Regions from separate parts of the Homo sapiens genome. Here region 2 is linked to region 1. Evidence: promoter capture Hi-C in 16 types of primary human blood cells and fetal thymus (Javierre and others, 2016). All regions are on one chromosome and are shown on one strand. Each heading gives the region's core, a stretch centred on a gene start or on the middle of the fragment in contact. The rest is flanking DNA. Distances are from core to core; before and after follow the strand shown. Region 1 holds the start of BARX1 (BARX homeobox 1). Region 2 overlaps PHF2 (PHD finger protein 2).

Region 1 (3,629 bases), core at 531-3,030:
CAACAACTGGGAAGGAGAGACAGTGGGCTCTTGGGACTGGGATCTTACCAGAGTAAGGTAGTCTTTGTCCTCACTCCAGGCCCTACAGACAAAGGATCTGGGCCACTTCCTAGTCCCCACCTGCCCCCCACCCCCACTCCCGAGTCTGGGGCAGGTGCCAGGGACTGAGGGCCAGCCTGAAGGCCTCCCCACCAGCAGCTGGAGCTGGAGAAAGGACTTCAACTTGGGTGGGGGGCATGGCTGTAGGTGTGGTAAGCCCTAGTTACCTGAGGTAAAGACTGAGGCCCCACATGGAGCTCACAGAGGAAGTCCGGGTGGCCCAGGACACCCCCAGTGCATCAGGCGCTGACTGGCAATGGTGGATGGGGCTAGGAGGTAGGCCCTGTGATTCCTGAGAAGGAGGAGGGCAGATGCTCCTCCCCCAACCTCCTGGGGACACTTCTCCCCTCTTGCCTGGAGGAACTGTTTTCTCTCCAAACAGACCTAAGGGCTCCCAGGGTGCAGGACCCTCGGAGTGCAGGACCCCCTCACTGAGTTCTCACAGTCTCTCTGGAGCCAAAGGTCAGCATCTCCTCAGGACAGGTAAGGAAACAGGCCCAGAAAGGGTCAGTGGTTTCACCAGTAGTGGCAGGACCAAAGAGAGGAGTTCAGCGTAGGGTAGCTTTGGGGTTGTTCACTCCACGGCTTGGGCTTATACTCTTCTAAGGATGGAAAGAAAGATCTAGAGAAGGTACTGCCAACTTCCTCCACCATGTTGGAGCTTTTGAGGCTCCGCAATGGAGCCAGGTCCCACCAGAGTTTGGTCTTTACACTCTCAGAGCACCCACTGGCCCCCTGGCCCCAACTCCGCCCAGTAACAGTTTCTTGATGCCCCAAAGCTGGGAAAAGGCAAAGCTGCATCCTTCCCTTCTCCTCGAATCCTTTTCCTTTTCTAACTAGGGGGATGTAACCAGCCTACAGTCTTCTGGGGGCTGTCAAGGAGGATGTGTCCATGGATCACTTGAATTTCCAATTCAAGCAAATCTCGGCTGGAGAACATTTTTCTCTCAGGGCAGCCCGGAGAGAAATGAGGCCGTACATGGTAAACTGAGGCAGAGGTGGGAGGGGTGCACAGGTGCCGCTACCGCTCTGCCCCTTGCATCCCTGAACGCTGCCTCACCCTTGCCGGGTTGGCGGTGTTGAGCCCGGGACTGGAGGCTGCTTGAGACCACCTCCTTCCCAGCTGAGGAGCGCGGCCTTTGCCCCTCCTCCTCCCGACCTTTCCGGGGCTACCTAAAAGCCGATCAAGCCGCCGGTTTTCTAGCTGTTCCCATTTCTTTACCGCCCCCTTCCTCTGCCCCGCCTGCCTCTGTGCCCTCCGTCACGTCACAGCCCGCTGGCTCTCACGCCTCTTTTGGTCTCTCTGCGCACATCTCGGTGGCGTCTCTGGTGCCCTCACATCACTGTCTGGAATCTTGTTTGGCCCACGCCGTCTGCCTCTGCCCCTTCTCTCACCTGTGTCGTTTGATCCCTCCGACTCTCGTCTCTGGGGGTCTTGCCTCCCGAACTCTCCGGCTCTCTCCTTCCAGGGCGTGCGCTCCGCTCAGTCTCCCTCGGTCTCGGTCGGCCGGCCTCTTTCACGTGGCCCCCTCCTTTTTGGCCTCCCTTCCGCCTCCCTCCCTTCTGGGTCCCTCCCTCCGGCTCAGCCTAGGGGTTGGGGGCGGCGGCGCGGGGCGGGGCGGGGCGGGGCGGTGACGCGGGGCTGGCCGGGCAAGAGGCGCGGCGGCGTGGGGAGGGGGCGCAGTCCCGGGTTCGACCGGCCGAGCCCCGCGCGCCCCGCCCGCGCCCTGCGCCTCCGCCCGGCCGGCCGGCGGGGGAGGGGGCATGAGCCGGCGCCCGCGCGCCGCCCCGAGCTGCGGGCCGGCCTAGAGCCCCGCGCGGGCCCCGCGCCGGAGCCAAGCCGTCGCCGCCGCCGCCGCCAAACCGCGGGCGCAGCAGTGGGCGCCGCGATGCAGCGGCCGGGGGAGCCGGGCGCCGCGCGCTTCGGCCCGCCCGAGGGCTGCGCGGACCACCGGCCGCACCGCTATCGCAGCTTCATGATTGAGGAGATCCTCACGGAGCCACCCGGGCCCAAGGGCGCCGCGCCCGCAGCCGCCGCTGCCGCGGCGGGCGAGCTGCTGAAGTTCGGCGTGCAGGCGCTGCTGGCGGCGCGGCCCTTCCACAGCCACCTGGGTACGTGTGGCGGCCGCGGGGTCGCGGGCCGGGCTTGGCGGGAGACAGCGAGCTGAACCGCGGGGGCGCCCCGAGCCTCCTCCGGCATCGAAGCAGCCCCGGGAAGCTGCTCTGGGAGCGCAGGTTCTGGGACCGTCTCTCGGAGCCCTCCAGGCGGGAGGCGGAGGGTGCAAGCTCCAGGCCTCACAGAAACCAGGCCTCGTGCCCGCGGGCCGCCCGGGGAGGGTGTTCGCTCTTTCCTTCACTGCTTCCCTTCGGCCTCCAGCCCGGGGACCCCGAGTGAGCATCCCCAGTGCAGGCGCACTGCCAGGCTACGGACTCTCGTGGGTGGAAGCGACCTCAGGCCACGGGCGCCTGGGCTTCGCCGCAGAGGGATGGCCGGGAGTGGCCGCGGCTGCCCAACCCAGGGAAGTCGGACCTCTGGGGAGGAGGCCTGCGCTCCCGAGGGCTGGGTGCTGACGCGGGCCCAAGCCGGCCCGGAGTCCCCGGGAGCTCCAGCGGGCGAGGAACGCGGCCTTGGCCGCAGTGCGGACCTGCTTCGGCCTTGCCTTGGGGCCAGAGGCCTGACTGTGAGCAGCTGCCTGGCTGTCCCTTCTGGTTTCAGGTCGGCTGGGCCTCTGCAGGGCTTGAACGGCCTGCGCAGACCTTTTCAGCTTCTGCCCTTTCTTCTAATTTGGCGGGGCCTGCTCTGCCCTGATGGTGCTGTCTCCATCGCACTCCACCCTCGTCTTGTCTTTCCCTATCTCGCTTTCCAACCGTCTGCCGGTCGGCCTCCCTCGCTTCTCTCATTGGGGTCGGCCTGCCTCCCATCTCCCACCTTTTCCCTACGGGTCCTCTGCCCCACATTTACCTGCGCCTTGCCCTGCCCTTTCCGACTCCAGCCAGGCTAGGACTCGCACCTCAGTGACAGGCCTGTCGGGGAAGGGAGGCTCCTACGCTGTAGCCGGGACCCCAGCCCTTCAAGTCGCCTTCCCTGCACCCCCCCACCTCCTAGTCGGTGCTCCCTAGCCTGGAGACGGCAGGGCCAGCGCGCTCCTTCTAAGTCCAGCTGGGACTCGGCCATTCGGCTACCTTTCGTCTCCATCTGCTCTGTTGCTACTAATTCGTTTGAAGCGGGCACACAATCATTTTAGGACTGAAGAAAATGGAAACATCTGCATGGGGAAGCGTCTGAAAATAGAAAACGTGAACAATAATTTCCAGGTTCTCAGGGTACTTTGGAATTTCCGGGAAGCACCCAACTCCGGCCCAGATGACTCCTGGCCACCGCATGGCTGTTGTGCCACGCACGGAAGAGCAAATGTGCACGCTCCGTGCATGTTCTTTTTCTAACGCAGCAAGGCTGATTTGGTTGGAGCAAACGCCATCTTCTTAGGACCAGCTGCCGTTTTCTTTTTGGTTTCTACTTTCCCCGAAAG
Region 2 (3,629 bases), core at 643-3,142, 310 kb after region 1:
GAGATCACCAGAACTGAGGATAATAGAACAACCGAAAAGAGATTTGAAAATAAATATACTCAACACATTCAGAAGGAAATCAAGAGGATGCGGCAAGGCACAGGGATGTATTAAAAAAGAAAAAAGACCAGGCAATATTGAAAAGGAAATTTATAGAAATTTTAGAAATAAAAAATACAATGATCAAAATTTTTTAAACTCAATGGATGCACTAAACAGTAGATGGCTGAAAAAATAGTAAATTTGAAGAAAAATTTTTAAATGATACAGAGAATACAGAAGAAATGCTACTAAAAGAGAAAACAGAGTATTTTTCAGAATTGACATGTGACTCTCCAAATTAAAGAGGCTTACTGGGTTCTAAGCAGAATAAACAAAAACAAATGTACATCTAGAGGCAATATCGTACACTCATGTACTGAGTACATCAAACAATATAAAGAAACAGCAACTAGACTAACAACAGATATCTCATTAGCAAGAGATGTCAAAAGACAATAAAATACCTTTCAAAGAATTAAAGAAAAACAGCTTTCACTCTAGAACTTTAGATCCATTTTAGAATATTAGAATCATGTAAGAATAAAGACAGTCATTGTCAGACAAGACAGTATGTATTTTCATAAGCCTTTGCTGAAATAACTAAAAGATATAATTCTATAAGAAGGAAATCAAACTTAGAAGAAAGGTGTGGGATTCAAGAAACAATGGAAAACTAATCTACAGATTCCACATAATCCCTATCAAAATCCCAGCTGACTTCTTTGCAGAAATTGACAAACTAAACTTGGAATGCTGAATAAAAATGCAAAGCACTCAGATGACCAAAACAGTCTTTTAAAAGAACAATGCTGGAAGACCCTTCCCAACCTCAAAATTCAATACGAAGCTCCTACAGTCAAGACGGTGGTACTGTCATAAGAAAAGATATACAGAGGAATGGAATACACTTAAGTGCCCAGAAATAAATCCTTAACACCCACAATCAACTGCTTTTCAAGGAGAGTGCCAAAACAGTTCAATGGGGAGAGGCCAGTCTTTTCAATAAATGTTGCTAGGAAAAGTTGATATCCATATGCAAAAGAATAAAGTTCTTCCTACCTCAGATAGTATACAAAAATTCAATCAAAATGAGTCAAAGACCTAAATATAAAAGCTTAAACTATGAAACTCACAGAAGAAAACAAAGGCATAAATCTTCAAGATCTTGGATTAGGCAATGATTTATCAGCAGTGATACCAAAAGCACAAGCAATAAAAGGAAAAAAGAGGTAAGTTAGACTTCACTAAAATTAAAAACTTTTGTGCTTCAAATGACGCTGTCAAGAAACTACAAAGACAACACAGAATGGCAGAAAGTGTCTGGTAAGGACAAGTATCTAGAATATGTAAAGAATTCTTACAACTCAAAAATAAAACAACAGATAACCCAATGAATTTAAGGTGGCTAAAATAATGTGGAATTGTTCTTCTGGTTTCAGCTCCAACATGTGAAGAGTTTGGATGTTGTCACTCCCCTCTTCCCCACAAGAAAAAGGCTGAACAAACAGAAAATCAACAACTTTTCTTATATTCATCAGAGAATTGAGCTCATAGGGCAAACAACCAACCACCCAAAATCTGAGGAGACAGAAAATCATAGCTGAGATCGCCTTACCTGAAGCGGAAGCTGCTGGAGGCAGTGACCTGTAGGAACACTTAAGTGATAACTTTTGTCAAACTGCCAAAAGTTAAGTGTAGATCAGTTTAAGAGTTAAAAACTCCTTAATCCGGCAGAAGGATGGAAATAGAATCTATTTTTAAATACATCCAGAGTGTTGTTCTCCATAACAAAAGTCTGCTCCCCTGTATCAGACTCTACTGGACATGGGGAAAGCATTTGGCGACCTCCAGCCCCCACTAACCTTCCTGTCTCAGATAAGGAGAGAAAAATTAAAAAGGCTGAGAAATGCTCCTAATGATCACAGCCCAGAGACTCTACAAAACTGAGATTTAATCCTGAAATTATAGAACACTTCCCCTCCCCAAAACCTACCACCATACATCAGTATAATAATAGCTGACTATAACTGAGAGAGCTGCAGACACAGACTCTGTTTAACATGAAATTCTTAGGAAAACCCAAAGAAACCAGGAGAAAAACAAACAAACAAACTAGAAGAAGCTGACATCTCTGGCACCTAGAGCTATAGCAAATTTAACACAGCCCAGGTCCTACTCAGATTAACATAAAACCTCACACTAAATCCTAATTACCTCAATTCCTATTACACAATACATCGTGTCCAGCTTTCACAAGAAATTTTAAGCCTGCTAAATGGCAAGAAAAACTGTAGTCTGAAGAGACAAAGCAAGCATCCGAAGAAGACTCAGACATAGCACAGATTTCCGAATTATCAGACAGGAAATTTAAAATAACTAGGATTAGTATGTTAGCTACACTAATGGGAAAAGCTGACAACATGTAAGAACATATGGGTAATGTAAACAGAGAAATGGAAATTAAGACAGAGTCAAAAGGAAAGGCTAGAAATTAAAAAACAATAATAAAAGTAGCAAAAATGAAGGATGCCTTTGATGGGCTCATCAGTAGACTAGACATGGCCAAGAAAAGAACCAGTAAGCTTGAAGTTATATCAATAAAAACTTCCAACCTGAAATCCAAGCAGAACAAAGAAGCATGTGGGTGGGGGTCAAGGGGAGGCGCAGAATATCCAAGAAATGTAGAAGAAGAACTACAAACAGCCTAATGTGCATATTGAGAATATAAAAAGGAAGAGAAAATGCAGTAGAATAAATATTTATTTGAATTAATAATGGCTGAGAATTTTCTAAAATTAATGGCAGACATGAAACCAAAGATCCAAAAAGCTTAGACCACATAAAGGAGGATAAATGCCAAAAATTCTGCACCTAGGCATATCATATTTGAACTGCAAAAAAAACCAAAGACCAAGCAACTATCTTGAAAGAAGGCAGATGAGCGAGGTCAACTTCCAGCATGACAATGAAATGCTGAAAATTATTTAAAAAACAATTATTCAGAGCCTCTGGAAATGGTCCCAAGACCAAACAGCAAATGAAGAAACATCTATTTAAGAAAATCTCCAAAAACTCAGTAAGAACAGTCTGTGATATTTGGACCAAGACTGCTCCCTCCATTCACATTCAGAGCTCAGAGGTGGACACTCCACTCCCAAGTGCTGCAGCCAAAAACACAGGCTTCGTCCCCACCGGCTCCCAGCTAGAGAGCTTTCTTCTTGGGAGAGCAGGACTTCCACTTCTCATTCTGCCCCAGCTGCCTGTTGCTGAGTTTACGTCTGCAGCAAGTAATGCCAAGAGGTGGGGGCTGCCTTCTTGCATCCAGCTCTGACTAGTGAAACTGAAGCTCTCCCTTGGGTGTGGCATGCTGATAGTGCTGAGGGGGGCCCTGACCACCCTCACCTTGCCACTTCTATTCAAGGTGATATTGGAGGTTCTTGGGAGAGCAATTAGGTAAGAAAAATAAATACAGGTCACCTAGATGGGAAAGGAATAAGTCATACTATCTCAATTTGCAAATGACATGGTCATATGTATATATAAAATACTAAGGAACCCTCTAAAAAAAAACTATTAGAACTAATAAA

Evidence for each region. Contacts are between HindIII fragments. The CHiCAGO score rates a contact against its expected background, and 5 or more counts as called.
Region 2: a contact is called between a fragment that was not itself captured here and the fragment with the promoter of BARX1 in region 1, in 1 of 17 cell types (M0 macrophages). The highest score is 5.6, in M0 macrophages.

What each region holds. Positions count from the first base shown.
Region 1 is chr9:93,953,506-93,957,134 of GRCh38, reverse strand. It overlaps BARX1 (BARX homeobox 1), which reads left to right and starts at 1,780. Exons shown (of 4, transcript NM_021570.4): 1 at 1,780-2,211. The coding sequence starts at 1,989. BARX1-DT (BARX1 divergent transcript) reads right to left here and starts at 1,301. Exons shown (of 2, transcript NR_144455.1): 1 at 267-1,301. LOC124902216 (a long non-coding RNA gene) reads right to left here and starts at 1,609. Exons shown (of 3, transcript XR_007061672.1): 1 at 1,495-1,609. RefSeq lists enhancers at 724-1,254, 1,255-1,786, 3,198-3,629. The HindIII fragment of the contact is 28,188 bases long and covers 1-3,629 here.
Region 2 is chr9:93,639,442-93,643,070 of GRCh38, reverse strand. The region is part of intron 3 of PHF2 (PHD finger protein 2); the gene reads right to left. Among named protein-coding and RNA genes, the nearest start is that of MIR548AU, 46 kb to the right of the region's middle. The HindIII fragment of the contact is 1,468 bases long and covers 1,159-2,626 here.